Linked DNA regions of Homo sapiens: region 1 is linked to region 2. The links are contacts of gene promoters, found by promoter capture Hi-C in blood cells and fetal thymus (Javierre and others, 2016). All regions are on one chromosome and are shown on one strand. Each heading gives the region's core, a stretch centred on a gene start or on the middle of the fragment in contact. The rest is flanking DNA. Distances are from core to core; before and after follow the strand shown. Region 1 overlaps SPON1 (spondin 1). Region 2 holds the start of FAR1 (fatty acyl-CoA reductase 1).

Region 1 (5,030 bases), core at 1,885-4,384, 590 kb before region 2:
TCTTGTCTTTGCAGCTGGTAAACTGGGAGCTTTTGAATCTCTTCTTTACAGTCATGTAACGTTCCTGAATTCCACCTCCGCACAGTTTGGTGCATTCTGACCAGGCCGTCCATGGGCGCATCCTACAACCTGAAAGCATGAGAATGCCTTGTTAGGCCCGCAGAAACGGGACGGAACAGGGATGCTGAACTCTAGTAGAACTGTGAAATGTGCTTGTCTGGGCTCCTCCTCTGCTCAAGTATGTAATGATTGGTTAGAGTCGTTATTAGGGACAGTTAGGTCGTATGTGACTGACTGCAAAAAAATGGCCACAAATGCTTCACGGTTCTTCTCATCAAAAGGCAGACTCTGTTTCTCCACCTCTTGAATCTGGGCTTGACTACATGATTTGCCATGGCCAATGGGACATGAGCAAAAACAGGCCTAAAAGCTGCTAGGACCCTTCTACTACCATGTAAGCAAGCCTGGCTAGACCACTGGAGAGACCATGTGCAGAGAAGCCCCAGCCATCTCATGAGGCCCCAGATACGCAGGTGAGGCTGGTCTGGTCCAATTGTGCCACCAGCTAGTAGTAGCCACATGAATGAGTCCAAACTAGACCCAAGAAGAACCATCCAGTGGACCCAGTTCACATCACTGATCCACAGAATCTTGCTAAGTGATTGTTTAAAAAGACTGTTTTGGGATGGCTTATGCAGCAGCCATATAAGGAACACTAAACCACTTTCTCTTATGCCTTACTCCCCAAGTACTTGGCTCCCAAATGCTAAGTATAGAGAAGTACAATTTTTGTTCTTCCTACTCAGCATAAACATGCTGCTCTCCAAGAAAACTTCCCTGACCCCAGAGATTAATTAGGTTAGATCTTTTGATTACTGCTTCCATAGCACTCTAGATTCCTCTTTTATAGAACCCACCACATTTATGGTTACACATGAGATATTTGTTAACCACACTACAGCTAAGAGTCATGGAGGAATGTACCGTACAACTATGTACCTGCCACATAGTAGGCTTTAATGAATGTTTGTTGACTGGCTGACTACCATGTAGAACAGACAGCACTTTGATATGCAAACAGCTCCCTAATCATAAGGATCCTGAACCATCAAGGAGATCCTCATGCTTCAAAAAGAATAGGCCTTTAAAAATCAGAAAACTTGATGTACATGTTAATCTTCACTTTTTTACATGGGCACCTTCAGCACTGAAGTCCCTGGCAGGCATTTTCTTTTTCTTCTGAAGTCCTGGAACTCTGAAGTTAAGCTGGAGTTTGGGGATGTATAATCTTTCTCTTGGGTTACAAATAAAACCTATCTGGCCTCTGTGTCTGTTTGCCATCCCCAAATCAGTCAACACAGGTCTGATACAGTCACCCTCTTGCTTAAAACCACCTACAGAATCAGGTCCCAAAATCCTTGGTGGGCCACTGGCCTTGTGTGGTCTGGTCCCTGCCTTCCCAGCCTGGTTTCCTGCCTGCCTTGTCCTCTGTGCTTCATCTGCATCCCATTTATCACTTGGACCTATCACTTGGACCTATCATGGTCTTTGGCATCTCTGTGCCTTTGTAATGACTATTCTTGCTGCCTGGAATGTACTTTTCTTTTTTTTTTTTTTTAATTTGAGACGGAGTTTCACTCTTGTTGCCCAGACTGGAGTGCAATGGTGTGCTCTTGGCTCACTGCAACCTCTGCCTCCCCAGTTCAAGTGATTCTCCTGCTTCAGCCTCCTGAGTAGCTGGGATTACAGGTGTGCGCCACCATGCCCGGCTAATTTTTGTACTTTTAGTAGAGATGGGGTTTCACCATATTGGCCAGGCTGGTCTCAAACTCCTGACCTCAAGTGATTGGCCTGCCTTGGCCTACCAAGGTGCTGGGATTACAGGCATGAGCCACCGTGCCCGGCCTGGAATGTACTTTTCTAAGTGGCAAACTCCTCTAGATTTTTCAAGACCCACTCTAGTTTTCCCTGCTCTGACATCTCCCTGAACTCCAGTCAATGTAAGATGATGCTCATTCCTCAGCTCCCTGAGCACTTGGTGCATTGTTCTATTAGTTATTTGTCAGCTTGGATCAATATTATTTGGGGAAATAAAACTCAAGGCTGACATGACACTGCTGATAAACTTCTGGTTAGCCTTGCAAAAAAAAATCATAAAGTCTCAGGCCACGGCTGCCTTGTCTGAGCCACACCCTTAAAATGGAAGATGATGTGTTCTGGGAGGTTCTCAGGAACATTCCCTAAATGATGAACAAGACAAGACTCCTTTGACACATCTGTATCATTTTCCCTCTTTGCAAGGAGTGAATGGTGTTGCTAAGTCATAACTGACTTTGAGCAAAGTTGGACACATTATTGGTTTTATATGTGTGTAAAGAAGGAACTGTAATTCCTAAAGATTCTTTGCTTGAAAATTTATTTTTGGCAGGTAATTAGGTTATCTAAATGTTCTTTGATAAATGACCCCCACCGCCAATCTCCTTTATAAATTATGCTTGCTCAATATTTGGGAACAAACTTGGATCTAAAGAATCAAAATGTGGCCTGAAGACTCCAGAAGATGCAGACTCTCCCCGACTTTTTTTTTTTTTTTTTTTTTAAACAGGTCCAAGACTTAGCCCAGTGCAGAACCCTGCCTGTCCTGGAGACCACCCAGGCTGACACTTGGGAGCCATACCTGGGAACTGCTCCCCTTCAGACTCTTCCTTCAGCTGCTCACTCCGCCGGCTCTCTCGGGCCTCCCTCCAGCGTAGCTTTTGGATGGATGGATTTCGAAGGCATTTTCGGATGCGGCACTTTTTTCGCTGCACAGTCTCTGGGCAGGGTGCACCTCCAAACTGAGGCTCCATTTGGATCATCCGGGTTCGAATCACGTGGCCTTTCCCACATGACTTGTTACATTCCGACCACTGGGACCACTCGGTGAGCTCACAGTCAATGGCTGGCAAGACACAGATGGGCATGAGTGTATCACATGTCTGAAACAAGATATGGTCACGCTCTCCTTTGAACATCTCAACAAGCCTATGAGGGATGCAAAGCAGGTGCTGTGTCATGCTATTTTACAGAAGAAGAAACTGAGGCTCCAAAGAGGCAGGCTGACTTCAGCCCGTGTGGTTGGTAAGCAGCAGAGGCAGGATTGGTGCCAGGTCATCACCCATTCTATGCTCCCTCTATGACTCAAGAAGGCTTTGGAGGACTTTCAGGATGTGTTCAGAGCCTCTTGCCCTGCTCTGTGAACTAGAATATTGTCAGATCAGCCTCAAGTACAGAATAGCTTCCCACAGTCCCAAACTCACTGGTGATATTTTTCAGAGCAAGGCCAGCAAGCCCCCTGCTGCTCTTTGGAGAGAACAAGTCAACAAGCTAAAGGCGGCTGACCCTTGTGGACCAATACCAAGGACATTGTGGTTCTAACACACCCTGGCAGCTTTTCATTCTCAACATCATCCTGTGTTCTATATATGGTGGTCTATGCAAAAAACACAGGAGCCAGAAATGGGACATTCAGTAGAGAAGAGGGTCAGGAGCAAGTGGTGCTTTATGGTTTATCGAGATCCAGTAAATTCTTACTAAGCCAGCATCTCATAAATGTGAAAGGAAAATAACACATCAGTTTGACTGTCAGGATGTGTCCCAGGGAGGTAAATTATTCCAAGCTCTCTGTTGGTCTTGCAAGGCCAAAGTCAGGGTGGTGGACTTAGATGTCCTCATTTAGTTCAACAGTTTCAGTTCTTTTATCCCGCCTGTGGAAGCTCAGGCAGCTTTCTTATCTGCAAAATGGGGATCATGGTATTTTTTTTTTCATTAGGTTGTAAGGATTAAATGAGATGCTCCCAGCCCTGTAAGTGCTCCATAAATTTTCATTTTCTTCTCCCTTACTTCAGTGGACCCCAGGCACTCTAAGTCAGAAGGCTATGGGGCCCCAACTCTGGTGAGCTGGCCTGAACCATGGGCCAATCTTAGTTACTGAAAACCCCAGGCTTTCTCTAGTGGGTGGTCCAAGTTACCTCCACCCATGGCTGAGTCTCCTAAAACAACCCAGGAGCTGGAGCATGGAGCAGGGATTAAGTAAGGCCTATCCTTGCCATGTCCAGTGCTCATACTTTGGACCAATTACTTGGTTTCATCCTCAGAGCAACCTAGGAAGTATTTCCTGCTATTTTACAGATGGAGAAACTGAGGAACAGAGGTGCTGAGTCATCGGCTGAAGGTTACTAGCTAGGGGAGGGAGGATGAACGACTGCAAGTACATGCTGGAGGGGGCCAGAGCCACAGCCAGTGTGCCTGCCCTTTTACCACCCAAAAAAGCAGCTCTTGGAAGACCAGCCAAGGAAACTGGCTTGCTCTGCTTGGAGATTAGTCCCATGTAATATAAACAGCTGATCGCAGAGACTTTGGAAAACAGGACTGGGAGTGGAGCGGGGTGGGGTGAGTTTTTGAGAACTTGGCTTGTTTTCTTGCTGGTTTTCTTACCAGTCTGCAGGAGTCATTGATTTAATGTCCAGCCTCTGGTCATGGGGAATTAAAATGGTCACAGGGAAAATAGAATTAAAATGCTTGGAAAATCCATGGGTCAGGCAAGCCTATAATTGTTGGGGGAGAGGAGGGAAAGAACTAAGGTTTATTGAGCTTTGTGCTGTTTTTCGTATGTGTCTGTCATTTAGACTTCACAGGAACCTTAACTTTGGGTGTTCTGTAGACGGTAGTGGGATTCTCACTTTATTAATGAAACTGACTGCAGTGTTTAAGTAACTGCAAACACTGAAAGCCAAACCCCAAACTCTTCCCCAGCAAACCATGTTATTCTAGGATCTAGCAGTATTAGCACTGGCTGGTTCGGGGCTCCCTGGACTCAGGAACATAGAAGTGATGGGCCTTGAGGAGCTCCAGGACTTACGGCATTCAGGGAGCATGCACTTCTCCACCTGCTCCAGATCCTCATTGCAGTCTCCAAGTTCTGCCAGAGACTTGAGCATCCGCTGTCGGGTTCGCATGCCCTTCCCGCAGGTCACGCTGCAGTCACTCCA
Region 2 (4,996 bases), core at 1,371-3,870:
CCAAGTACAAACTACTGGAATGTCATCCTCATGTCTTGTAATAACCCACATCCCAACTTCTAGTTCACATGATGGCTCAAAACTCACCTCTTTCAGGAAACCTTCCCTGATTCACTCCACGCCACTCAGATTACTTCTCTACTGCAAGTCGCCTCAGCACTTAGGTATTGTTATACTAAGGGCAAATGTGATCACAGTAAACAGCATCACTAAGAAATCGCTTTCACAAAATTGTTTCTAGATCATAAATAATGGTCCATTAGTTAAAATGCTTTGCTGATCTGGTTAACAAGCAAACATGTTACACAGCAAATGCTCTCTTTGGCTTCTGTCCTTGACTCTATAACTCTTCACAAACCTTTTGTCCTATCCTCAAACAGAAACTCTATCTCCCATTTAAATACACTGGAAATATGGTAGTGGGCCACCTTCTTTTCTACTACCTCTTCTCTGACCTCAGTCTCTGCCTCCAGCCTCTATCCACACCCCATAAATAAAAATTCCAAAAGCTTCAAATAGAATAGCAGTGATGCATACATACCATGTCTTTCCTGAGTGAAAAAAAAAAAAAAACCCTCAAGCTACTTAGCTACAAAATTCTTCACAAGGGTAATAAATTTCCCAACAAGCCTAATACATAATCAAACTCCAGAAAATTTATGTGGAATTTTTATGGATAAATTTATGGAATAATTTTGGCCGGCGCGGCAGCTAACGCCTGTAATCCCAGCACTTTGGGAGGCCGAGGCGGATGGATCTCTTGAAGTCAGGGGTTCGAGACCAGCCTGGCCAATATGGTGAAACCCCGCCTCTACTAAAAATACAAAAATTAGCCGGTGCGGTGGGGCATGTCTCTGTAGTCCCAACTACTCGAGAGGCTGAGGCAAGAGCTGATCACTTGAACCTGGGAGGTGGAGGTTGCAGCGAGCCAAGATCGCGTCACTGCACTCCAGCCTGGGCAACAAAGCGAGACACACACACACAAATTTATAAAATAAAAACAAAACAAAACAAAAATTATAAAATAATTTTATGGAAAATGTATGGAATAACAGGGCCTGGGTGGGGTGGCTCACCCCTGTAATCCCAAGCCTTTGAGAGGCCACGGTGGAAAGATCTCTTGGGCCGAGGAGTTTGAGGCTGGAACGAGCTATGATCTCGCCACTGCACTCCAGCCTGGGCGACAGCAAACCCTGTCTCTGTTTACTTTTTAAATTAATTTGAAAAAAATACATCAGGATTGTACTTATACGTTAATTCTCACTTGTATTACTGTAAGAGATCTTGCATCATTTTTATGCTATATTACACATGCCCAACATGACAGCTGAGAAACTCCCCTGGAGGGCAGATTTTCTGAGAGTATCTTCTGATGTTGTCTTTAAACCAACACTTTTTTTTTTAACATAAAGAATTAAGGGATTCCTGACTGCCATCTAGTCAAAAGCAAACAATATGTATGCCATTACTTCGGAGGGAGTGAGTTCTTGTGCTGCTGAGGCAAAACGAGATGAACTGTCACAGGGATGGCAGGAGGGGTGGAGTGTAGGAGGAGGATCAGCCCCAGTAGTGAGAATTAAAAACTCTTTTGAGTATTTGGCCCTCCACTAGCAGTAAATTAACCTTCAAACCTGACCAAGACACTACCTGAGACCCTCCACTCTCCGACACCGCAGAATCAGACAACTGTTCTTGCTCAACTACTCATAAAAGATTCACAGCCTTCACCTACCACACATAAATCTACCGCGTTTGCTGCTTGTATACTTTGTCCTAACAGACCAACTAATGCCTTCTAGTCCAATAGCCTCCCGTCCACACCTCACATAAAACCTTCTCAGCCACCTTCCGGTTTCAGTAGGTGCCTCTTACTCCAGATCCACGTGTCCCCAGTTCTCCAGAGACCTTCACCTTCAAAACCCAAGCCCGTCCCCCCTTCACTCCCAGCTGATCTCCACCCAGGCCCTATCAATCCTTACTTCTAATAGGCCAACCACACTCCCCGGCCCCGCGCCTTCTCCCTCAGCACCCTTTTCTGAGCATCACCTATTTCCCACCACTTTCTTCCTCCCCAGACCCGGAATCCTGCAATCACTAGGCCTCCCTTTGCCGCTACCCTCCCGCGAGCACGCGGAGCCCGCTGCTCGGCTAACCACCCCGCCCCACCTTCGCCACCTCTAGCGGCCTCCCACCCCAGGCGGCTCCCCGGGCTCCGCGGCTGCAAACCAGGCCCCACCGTACGTCCCCCACGCGGTCCCGGCCCTGTGAAGGGCGGCGGCGGGGCAAAGAGGGGCAGAGACCACCCGGGGTGAGGCGGGCGCCCTCACTTCTGGGCGTACCCGGGCGGGGGCGGGGGCGGGACGGCTGGTCGGCGCCCCCGCCTCGGCCAGGCCTGCAGCCCGAGCTCCCGCAACCACTTCCCGAGCCAGGCGAGGAGGAGCCCGCAGCCCGGCCGCTCCCGCTGGCGCACCCCCTTCTCACCTAGACGCAGAGGCTCAGGCCTCGCTCTCCCACTGGCCGTCCAGCAATAGCTGCGCCGCCGCCGCCGCCGCCGTCGCGCTCTCTTCACTCGCTTTTCCACCGCCCGCGACCGGCTGCTGAAGAGCGGACGGGCAGTGGCACGCCCATTGGCTGAGGCCCGCAGTCGCGTCAGCCGGCCCCGACCGCACCTCGCGACGTGACTGGCTGGAGCGGCGCCTCTTTTCGACATCCGCTTTTGATTGGCTCTCGCGCACACCCTTATCCGCAGGACCAGTCATCCTCCTCCCTGCTTTAGCCTCTCACCCCCAACCCGGTTTCCCTCCGGGCGGGAGTGGGGCGGGAGCGGACGCCCGCGGAACGCGAACGGCCAATGGGGGCGCGGAGAGAGGGCCGGGAGGTGGGCCCTGCGGCCGGGAGGCTCGCGGGGGAATGCTCAGCCAATGGGCCCGCGCCCCACATCTCGAGTCCTGGAGCGCCCCCGCCGGCTGCTGGCGTCCTGTCGGGTCGCGCCCAGGGCCACGCCCGGCTGTCCGTCGCGCGGGAGGGGCGCCAACTCCCAAGGTTGGGAGCACGCAGCGAGGCCCGCGCGGGAGACAGCGGGGCTGCCATTGTGGCGTGCTTAGCGCTATTATGGTGGGGCCCGGGGGCCCTCCGGCCATTGCTGGGCGTGAGGGATCCGTTCGGAGAACTACCAGCTTGGCGGGTGTGGCCCGGGTCGGTGAGAGCGAAGAGCTCTACGGACCCCTGGAGCCTCCACGGGTCTCGCCCAGTCCCAGGGGACTGTGGGCCCATTCATTCCACCTTCCACTTCCTCCAAAATAATTCCCTACAAAACTTACCGGTAGTGATAGGAGTTAGAATAACGTTTACTTCTGAGGGGTGGGGCACGAGGGAACCTATGGAAAGCTGGAAACATTGCGTCTTGATCCTGGTGGTCGTTCCGGGCTGTGTACACATGGAGGAATTCATCGAGCCGGACACTTAATAGTATTACCACATTCATACGGCTCATTTTTAAAAAATAATAAAAGGATCATGAGAATTCTGTAATAATATTACCACAATCTTTGGGCTCCGTGGGACTCCATTGTATAAACAGTCCGCATTAGGATTTAGCTGTCATTCAAAACATGCAAGCCATAGGAAGAAAAAAAAAGATTTGTGAGAAGCAAAAATGAGTGAACGCTCTTGGCACGGTGAATAGCATGCACAGGTTGGTATTTAGGGATGGATGGCTCAGAGTGATTTTTCTGTGGGGATTTAGAGCTTGTTTCAGTGCCTGGCCCTGTTAGTAGCTAAAAGCAGTCATAGTGCTGCATCCAGTTGGAAACTACAAAAGCTCACTGAACTGCCTACTTTGTGGCAGATGTTAAGTTCTGGCTCAGGAAACTAATTTGAATGCCATGGCTTCTGCCTCGATGAGCTCACAGTCTTGCAGCAAGTACTGTCATTTCTGGAGGAGGGCACAGAACACAAAGCTAACACACTTGCTTACCCTCAGGGATGTCGCATTCCGCTACTTTAGGCAAGACAGTGTATGCCTGGAACCCATCCAGTCCAATAGCCATAGTCATAAATAGCCAGGATCAGGTGAAACACTTCTTAGAAGTGGGTCAAAATATTCTCCCAAAACAAACGTAAGAACTATGGACCAAATTCTAATCTGTAAAAGAACACAAGCAACAAAACAAAGATTACAGTATTCATATTTATTAATTTAGTCATTAAGTTGTTTAAATCAGGTAAATGCCTTTATTTAAAGTGCTTGTCACTACACTAGGCATATAAACTTGGATATGACAGTATTCCACAGAACATAGGGTTTAATGGAGAGACAGACATAAACAATGCCAGTGTAATACAGGATGAGGGAATACCTAGAAAGAGGATGTAACCCAGCATGGGGGATTCAGGAGCATGTTAGAACATGTGTAGCTAAGTTAACCACTGCTAAGGTTTATCAGTATACTGATAGGGTAATATCACTATAGGAAATAGACACTATTTCCAGAAAATACTTCATAAACTTTTTGTTGTTTGTGCATATGTCTTAATTTTAAAAATTGATATAAGTACAAAAGCAAAGTAATGCTTAGTTCTGAGGAAAATATGATGTAATTATTAAGTAATCACTTAATAAATGATTCTCAAAAATAGCCGTACACTTGAGAGCACAAAGGGATCTCATTTGATTCAAGTCAATGTGTATGAAATGTGTGCCTCCGGCAGACCCCCACAAATGGACAGAGTGCTTTCTGGAGGAAGACTTTAAAAAACAATGGATCACTCTCCAAGATGGTACAATTTCATGGGTAAGGCATGTTGTATGACTCGAATCTTCCATAATATACTATCATTCTTAAATGAATTCAGAGAATTAATAAATCTACAAAAAGTGAGTAATAAAAGGCAGTGAAAGATTTTGCACCAGAGTTTAAACTAGAAAAATGTAATGACATCAATCATTCATTCATCTGCCTTTCCCATCTTTATTCAGCAAGATCCCTGAAAATTG

The links. The method cuts DNA at HindIII sites, captures the fragments that hold promoters and counts their contacts. A CHiCAGO score of 5 or more calls a contact.
Region 1: a contact is called between a fragment that was not itself captured here and the fragment with the promoter of FAR1 in region 2, in 1 of 17 cell types (naive CD4 T cells). The highest score is 5.1, in naive CD4 T cells.

What each region holds. Positions count from the first base shown.
Region 1 is chr11:14,260,623-14,265,652 of GRCh38, reverse strand. SPON1 (spondin 1) reads right to left here. Exons shown (of 16, transcript NM_006108.4): 14 at 4,901-5,030; 15 at 2,678-2,941; 16 at 1-129. Among named protein-coding and RNA genes, the nearest start is that of RRAS2, 96 kb to the left of the region's middle. The HindIII fragment of the contact is 7,755 bases long and covers 1-5,030 here.
Region 2 is chr11:13,666,292-13,671,287 of GRCh38, reverse strand. It overlaps FAR1 (fatty acyl-CoA reductase 1), which reads right to left and starts at 2,620. Exons shown (of 12, transcript NM_032228.6): 1 at 2,482-2,620. RefSeq lists an enhancer at 2,061-2,110 and silencers at 2,191-2,470, 2,581-3,070. The HindIII fragment of the contact is 7,046 bases long and covers 512-4,996 here.